2 separate regions of the Homo sapiens genome follow, and region 1 is linked to region 2. Evidence: promoter capture Hi-C in 16 types of primary human blood cells and fetal thymus (Javierre and others, 2016). All regions are on one chromosome and are shown on one strand. The core of a region is centred on a gene start or on the middle of the fragment in contact, and the rest is flanking DNA. Distances in the headings are between cores, read along the strand shown.

What was found. The method cuts DNA at HindIII sites, captures the fragments that hold promoters and counts their contacts. A CHiCAGO score of 5 or more calls a contact.
Region 1: a contact is called between a fragment that was not itself captured here and the fragment with the promoter of SEPTIN3 in region 2, in 1 of 17 cell types (endothelial precursors). The highest score is 5.1, in endothelial precursors.

What each region holds. Positions count from the first base shown.
Region 1 is chr22:42,092,960-42,096,857 of GRCh38, forward strand. The region is part of intron 3 of NDUFA6-DT (NDUFA6 divergent transcript); the gene reads left to right. Among named protein-coding and RNA genes, the nearest start is that of NDUFA6-DT, 4.0 kb to the left of the region's middle. The HindIII fragment of the contact is 4,764 bases long and covers 1-3,739 here.
Region 2 is chr22:41,967,916-41,971,962 of GRCh38, forward strand. It overlaps SEPTIN3 (septin 3), which reads left to right and starts at 1,528. Exons shown (of 12, transcript NM_001363845.2): 1 at 1,528-1,762; 2 at 3,559-4,047. The coding sequence starts at 3,578. The HindIII fragment of the contact is 14,934 bases long and covers 1-4,047 here.

The DNA.
Region 1 (3,898 bases), core at 108-2,607, 120 kb after region 2:
ACATGTTCCATAAGGGACTTGTATCTAGGATACATAAAATTCTTACAACTCAGTAATGAAAAGACAAATAGCCAAGTTTAGAAATGGGCAAGGGAGACAACACCAAATGCTGGTGAGGATGTGAAGCAACAGGAACTCTCCTTACTGGTAGGAACGCAAAATGGTACAGCAGCTTTGGAAGACAGTTTGGCTTTCTGACAAAACTAAACATACTCCCATCAGAAGATCCAGCCATTGCATTCCTTAGTGTTTACCCAAATGAGCTGAAAACTTATGTCCACACAGAAACCTGCACATGGATGTTTACAGCAGCTTTTGTTTTTGTTTTTGTTTTTGAGATGGAGTCTCGCTCTGTCACCCAGGGTGGAGTGCAGTGGCGCGATCTCGGCTCACTGGAAGCTCTGCCTCCTGGGTTCACGCCATTCTCCTGCCTCAGCCTCCAAGTAGCTGGGACTACAGGCGCCTGCCACGAAGCCCAGCTAATTTTTTGTATTTTAAGTAGAGACGGGGTTTCACCATGTTAGCCAGGATGGTCTCGATCTCCTGACCTCGTGATCTGCCCGCCTTGGCCTCCCAAAGTTCTGGGACTACAGGCGTGAGCCACCGCTCCCGGCCAGCAGCAGCTTTATTTGTAATTGCCAAAACTTGAAAGCAACCAAGATGTCCTTTAGCAGGTAAATGGATAAATAAACCTTGGTATATCCAGACAATGGACTATATTCAGCACTAGAAAGAAATGAGCTATTAAGCCATGAAAAGGCATGGAGAAACCTTAAATGCATATTAGTAAGTGAAAGAAGACAATCTGAAAGAGCTACATACTGTATGATTCCAACTATATTACATCCTGGAAAAGGCAAAACTATGGAGACAATAAAAAAGATGGCAGGGGCTGGGAGTGGGGAGAAATGCACAGAGGTGGTGCACAGAGAATATTTAGGGTAGTGAAATTACTCTGGATGTTATAATGGTGGATACATGTTATTACACATTTGTCAAACCCTACAGGATGTACAACACCAAGAATGAAACCTAATGTAAACTATGGGATATGGGTGATACTGGTGTGTCAATGTAGCTTCATTGCTTATAACAAATATATCCTCTGGTGCCTGATGTTGTTGGTGGGGGGAGGCTATGAGTGTGTGTGGGGTGGGGGAACCCTGTATTTTCTGTTCAGTTTTGCTGTGAACTCGAAACTGCTCTTAAAGATGAAATTTTTATTTTAATGGGTAAAGTATTTGAATAACCATTTCTCCAAAGAGGATATACGGGTGACCAATAAGTACATGAAAAGACATTCAACATCATGAGCCATTAGGGAAATAAAAATCAAAACCCTCGTGAGATACCATTTCTCACCCAGTAGAATGGCTAGAGTGAAAAAGGCAGACACAGCCAGTCACGGTGGCTCACACCTGTAATCCCAGCATTTTGAGAGGCCAAGGCCAGTAGATCACTTGGGTTCAGGAGTTTGAGACCAGCCTGGCCAACGTGGTAAAACCTCCTCTCTACTAAAAATAGGAAAATTAGCTGGGCATGGTAGTGCATGCCTGTAATCCCAGCTACTAGGGAGGCTGAGGCAGGAGAATTGCTTGACCCGGGAGGTGGAGGTTGCAGTGAGCCCAGATCATGCCATTTCACTCCAGCTTGGGTGACAGAGCAAGACTCCATCTCAAAAAAAAAAAAAAAAAGACAAAAGATAGTGTTGGCAAGGATATAGAGAAATTAGAACTTTCTATACTTTGCTGGTGGGAATGTAAAATGGTGTAGCCATTTGGGAAAACAGTCTGGCAGTTTCTTAAACAGTTAAATATGGCCAGGAGTGGTGGTACTCACTTGTAAGAGGCCGAGGCAGAAGCATTGCTTGAGCTTAGGAGTTTGAGACCAGACTAGGCAAAATAATGAGACCGTATTTAAAAAAAAAAAAAAAAGTTAAACGTGGACTTACTATATGATCCAGCAATTCCAATCCTAGGTATTTACCCTGAAGAAATTTTTTTCCACACAAAGACTTGTATGCAAATGTTCATAGCAGCATTATTCACCATAGCCAAAAACTAAAAACACCCAAATGGCTATCTGTTGATAAGTGGATAAACAGAAGGTGGTCTGTCACCCAGGCATGGTGGCTCATTCCTATAATGTCAGGATTGCTTGAGGCCAGGAGTTTGAGAACAGCTTGGGCAACATAGTGAGACTGCATCTGTTGAGGGAAGTCAGGAACCCCGAACGGAGGGACCGGCTGAAGCCGTGGCAGAAGAACATAAATTGTGAAGATTTCACGGACATTTGTTAGTTCCCCAAATTAATACTTTTATAATTTCTTACACCTGTCTTTACTGCAGTCTCTGAACATAAATTGTGAAGATTTCATGGACACTTATCACTTCCCCAATCAATAGCCTTGTGATTTCCTATTCCTGTCTTTAATCTCTTAATCCCGTCATCTTCGTAAGCTGAGGAGGATGTATGTCGCCTCAGGACCCTGTGATGATTGCATTAACTGCACAAATTGTTTGTAGAGCATGTGTGTTTGAATAATATGAAATCTGGGCACCTTGAAAAAAGAACAGGATAACAGCAACGTTCAGGGAACAAGAGAGATAACCTTAAACTCTTGACTGCCAGTGAGCCGGGCGGAACAGAGCCATATTTCTCTTCTTTCAAAAGCAAATGGGAGAAATATCGCTGAATTCTTTTTCTCAGCAAGGAACGCCCCTGAGAAAGAGAATGCGTCCCTGAGGGTAGGCCTCTGAAATGGCCACTTGGGGGGTGGCTGTATTTTACAGTCACAGCTGTAGGGATGAAATAAGCCCCAGTCTCCTGTAGCGCTCCCAGGCTTATTAGGATGAGGAAATTCCCACCTAATAAATTTTGGTCAGACCGGTTGTCTGCTCTCAAACCCTGTCTCCTGATAAGATGTTATCAGTGACAATGCATGCCCAAAACTTCATTAGCAATTTTAATTTCGCCCCGGTCCTGTGGTCCTGTGAACTCGCCCTGCCTTCATTTACCTTGTGATATCTTATTACCTTGTGAAGCATGTGATCTCTGTGACCCACACCCTATTCGTACACTCTCTTCCCTTTTGAAATCGATAATAAAAACTTGCTGGTTTTATGGCTCAGGGGGCATCACGGAACCTGCTGACATGTGACGTCTCCCCCGGACACCCAGCTTTAAAATTTATCTCTTTTGTACTCTGTCCCTTTATTTCTCAGACCGGCCGACACTTAGGGAAAATAGAAAAGAACCTACGTGAAATATCAGGGGTGAATTTTGCCCGATAGCATCTCTACAAAAATTTGTTTAAAATAGCCAAGCATGGTGGTACGTGTCTATAGTCCCAGCTACTCGAGGGGCTGAGGTAGGAGGATTGCTTGAAGCCAGGAGTTCGAGGCTACCATAAACTATGATCCTACCACTGTACTCCAGCCTGGGTGACAAAAAAACAAACCTAAACAAAACACAAAATATGGTGATACGGTTTGGATATTTGTCCCTTCCAAATCTCGTCAAAATGTCATCCCCAGTGTTGGAGTTGAAGCCTGGTGGAAGGTGAATGGATCATGGAGGCAGATCCCTCATGAACGGCTTAGCACCATCCCCTTGGTGATGAGTGAGTTCATCTGTAATCTGGTTGTTAAAGGTGTGTGGCATCTCCCGCTTTGCTCTCTTGTTCCTGCTGTCACCATGTGACATCCCTGCTCTCCCTTTTCCTTCTGCTGGGATTTGAAGCTTCCTGAGGCCCTCACCAGGAGCAGATGCTGGAGCCATGCTTGCACAGCCTGCAGAACTGAATCAATTAAACCTCTTTTTCCTCTCTCTCTTTTTTTATTTTTATTTTTTTTGATATGGAGTCTCACTCTGTCACCCAGGCTGGAGTGCGATGGCA
Region 2 (4,047 bases), core at 278-2,777:
CCAGCCTGGGTGACAGAGTGAGACTCTCAAGAAAAAGAAACTTACTGAAGCCAATTTTTGCCAGACCCTGGGGCCCAGAGAAGAAGATCCAGGACCTTCATAACTGAGCTTTCCACCCAGGCATGGTGGCTCACGACCGTAATCCCAGCACTTTGGGAGGTGGAGGTAGGAGTATTGCTTGAGCTCAGAAGTTCGAGACCAGCCTGAGCTACATAGGGAGACCCCCGTCTCTACAAAAAATAAAAACTTAGCTGGGCGTGGTGGTGCATGCCTGTGGTCCCAGCTACTCTGGAGGCAGAAGTGGGAGGATCACTTGTGCCCAAGAGGCTGCAGTGAGCCATGATGGCGCCACTGTCTTCCAGCCTGGGCGACAGAGTGAAACCCTGTTCAAAAAAACTAATAACAACAACAGCAACAACAAACGAAACAGAGCTGAGCTAATATGGTAGCCACAGATTAAAATAAACTAAAAAATCCAGTTCCTTGGTCACTGTAGACACATTTTAAGTGATCGGTAGCCATCTGTGGCTAGTGGCTACTGTACTGGACAGCACAGACATAGAACATTTCCATTATCACTGAAAGTTGTATTGCCCAGCGCAGCTCCAGAAGCTCACTCGCTAAAGAGAGAGACACACAGGAGAGCAGACCAGACAACACAGTGTTGTGTGGGCTGCAATGTCCTCCTCGGTAAAAAGCAGGTGATGAGGCGGAGATTAAAGGAGATGCCAGGAGAATGCTTAGCCTAGTTCCTGACTCAGGGTGAGTGCTCGGAGGACATCTGCCATCACCGTACAGGACAGTACTATAGGATCTGTTTACATACCTATCTTCCTAGCAGACTGTGAGCTCCGCCCAGCCCTGGCATGGTGCCGGGCACAGAGCAAGTGCTCAGGAAATAGTAGCTGTTATCAGCACCATTGTTATTATCACCACTGCTATGACAGAGGCAGCCGAGGGCTGTGGGAACACAGAAGAGGGCTCCCATCCCAGCCCCAGGGCCAGGGGCTGCTGAGAGTCGGCATTGCCAGAGCCAGGCTGGGTGGCTTTGTGGTCCCCTCAGGGGCAGGCCTAGGGCGGGGTCCTCTTCACACCCTTAGGGTCTGGGTACAGGGTCCAGCTGGAGCAAGCTGGGGCTCAGGGAATAGTTGTGGAAGGAGCTCTAGCCTCCAGGAACTCCAGCCCCCTTGAGGAAAGACCAGGTGAGTGGGCAAGATGGTCTGAGGGTTGCAGAGCTGAACAGGGCATGAAGGGCACAGAGGCAGAGCCAGAGGGAGACTCGCGCTGGGACTACCAGAGTGCAGCCATATTTGGAGTACCCCTGTTTTTACTGCAGACTCCCCAGGCATCAAAGTCTGTGGGAGACAGAGCAGATTTGGGGAGGGCAGGCTGCAGGGAACCTCCCTGCAGGTGGCCGTGAGTGCCAGCCTGGCCGTTACCAGCCTCCCATGGCTCTTCAGGATTCCAGAGGCTCAGAGCAGCCATTCACAGCCGCCCACTCCTAGGAAGCCAGCCCCTCCCTGCACCAGAGCCCAGCCCAGCACGGTCTCCGGGGATGTAGCTGGTGGGACAGTGAGCAGAGGGCTGGGCCCTGTGCCTGGGGACTGTGGCCTGGAGGCTGAGCAGGAGCTGAGGAGGGGACCAGAGGGACAAGGCCCCTAAGCTGGCCACCATGGCCAGACTCTGAGTGCAGGGGAGGTGAGGGGCCTGCGTGTGCCTTATCTTCCCAGACACACTGGATCCTTCTTGTCCTCTGATCAAGGTAGGTGTGTAGGGGGGTGGAAGGGTGTGGGGGTTTGTGGGGGTGGGAGGGTGGTGGGGGTGGGGTGGGGAAGGACCAAGCAATCCATGGAAGATGGGAGTGCAGTGAGGGGATGGGGAGTCGGGTGATGCCCTCGGACACCCTGTCCTCTGGCCTGCTCTGTGTGTGGGTGTGCACACTGAGGGGAGCTGTTTGTGGCTAAGTGCAGGGTAAACGTGTGTGCCCAAGTGGATGTGGCTGTGCAGGAGGGGGCAGAAGTTCAGGGCTGCAGTGATAGGCCAGGTGGGAAAGGGTTGGAGGCCAGGACAGTCTTGGATACAAATATATGGCTGGAGAGGGATGAGGGGCTGGGGGCACCATTGTGAGGGGTGATGCCTTCCCTGTCCGGTGCCCTGCCTTCCCCGTCCCTGCTGCAGACCTCAAGGACCTGGCTACATGATCACTCCCCTCCCCATGAGCCCTCTGGAACTGACTCCTCCCACCAGCCCTGGCCTTGTCCCCCAGCTGCAGGTCCCAGCCTGCTGTGTTAAAAGCAACCAAACCAACTTTTTTCTAGAGGGTGAGTTACTTGGAGTCCAGAGTAGCAGGGAGTGGCCCATCTACTAAGACCACAGCCAGAGTCCTGAGCTTCATCCTCGACACCTCTTTGTGCCCACTCCCTACCCTGGGCAGTCCCGCCACTTCTACCCCTGTGCAATGCAGCCTCCTCCAGCCCCAGCCCTAGCTCTGCCCCTTGCACAGCCCACGGAGCAGAGAGTTTCAACTATGTCCTCATGGGATCCTGGCTTCAATTCTGTTCCCATCTGATCCCTCTGTCACACTGCCCGAGTGGCCGTTCCCACCTACAGATCGGAATGGGTCACATTCCCTGGCCTAAACTTTGCTGTAGCCTGGCCTGGACCCCAGCTCACCTGCAGCCTTGGCTCTCCCCTCCCTGCTACATACAGCCTAGGAGCCCCATGTTGGATTTTCAGAAAGATGCCACACTTTCTCACCTTTGGGCCTTCTGTAGGAACAGCCCCAGCTCAGGTCTAGCCTCCCGCCTTTCTACCCCTAATGCTTAGCTTGGTGGAGCCCTGCCTACTTCCTTGCCTGGCATCCCTGGGCATGGCAGCCTCTTCAAGGGCGGGGACCATGGCTTGTTCACCAGATAAGCTCCTTCTGTGAACACTCACTGCCTCTCCATTTCCCATCCTCACCTTCTCCAGGGCTGGCTCTGTTTCTGACTCCAGCACTAGGCCAGCTCAGGGCTCTTTCTTGGTTCTGGGGCTCTAAGCCAAATTGGTCCTCTCTCATCCTGCCACCTGGACACCTGAGCTCCTATGTTGGCTGCTGTGGGTGGGAACCCACAGCCCTTTGGTTCTTTCTGGAAGAGAAAGGGAGAGACGTCTCCAGTAAGCACTGCCCTCCTCTGGAGTCCCTGAACATGTATGTGACCTCCATAGAGCTGTCCACAGAGACAGGGGCCACACTCAGGCCCAGGCAAAGGGAGACGTAAGCCCAGCCTGAGATGCCCCATGCTGGAGGCAGACTGCTCACTGGACGTGCCCACCCCACTGTGTGGTGGCTGGCCGGGGTGGGGTAGGTATGAGGTACAGATCAGTCTGCAGCAGGTAGGAGCCGTAGGAGGACAGGAGGAAGTTACATGCATCCTCCACTAAGGACTGGACAGTCCCCAGAACCAGGCCCCTTCAGACCCGGCATGCTCAGCTGCTGGTCAGGAAGGGGAGAGCTGAGACCTCCAGGCCTGAGCTCCTCACCCCTGCCTGGCCTCTTCTCTCTGTTGATTGCCTCAGGGAAAGACAAACGACCTGGATGGACCACAACTTTGCTCCTGCTCCTCCAGAGATGCAGTCGCATGGAGCTCCAGGCCCGGGAACCTCCTTCTCCCATAGCCATGTGCTGGGGCGCCCTATCCGCCCCTCGAGACTCCCTGGAGGAGGGTCCCCCCTCACCCCCGTCCTCAGGAAGACCATCCATCTGGATACCTTCCCCCAAAGCCATATCCCACAGACCTCCAGCCGGCTGGGCCTTGGAGCCAGGACCCGGAGTGTGCCCCCACAGGAGACGGGCATCGCTCTGGGGGCTTCCTTGAGCCCCCTGCCCACCAGCAGCCTTGTACCCAGGAAGCTCAGCTCCATCTCCTTGACTCTCCATCAGAACAGCCAGGCACGGTCCCTGGATCGCCCACTTTCTCACTGGGAAGAGTTGCCTACCCCAGGAAAGAAGGCTGCTCCCCATGAAGGAGGGAGGGTGTCCTCGCCAGGCTCGCCACCTGTGACCCT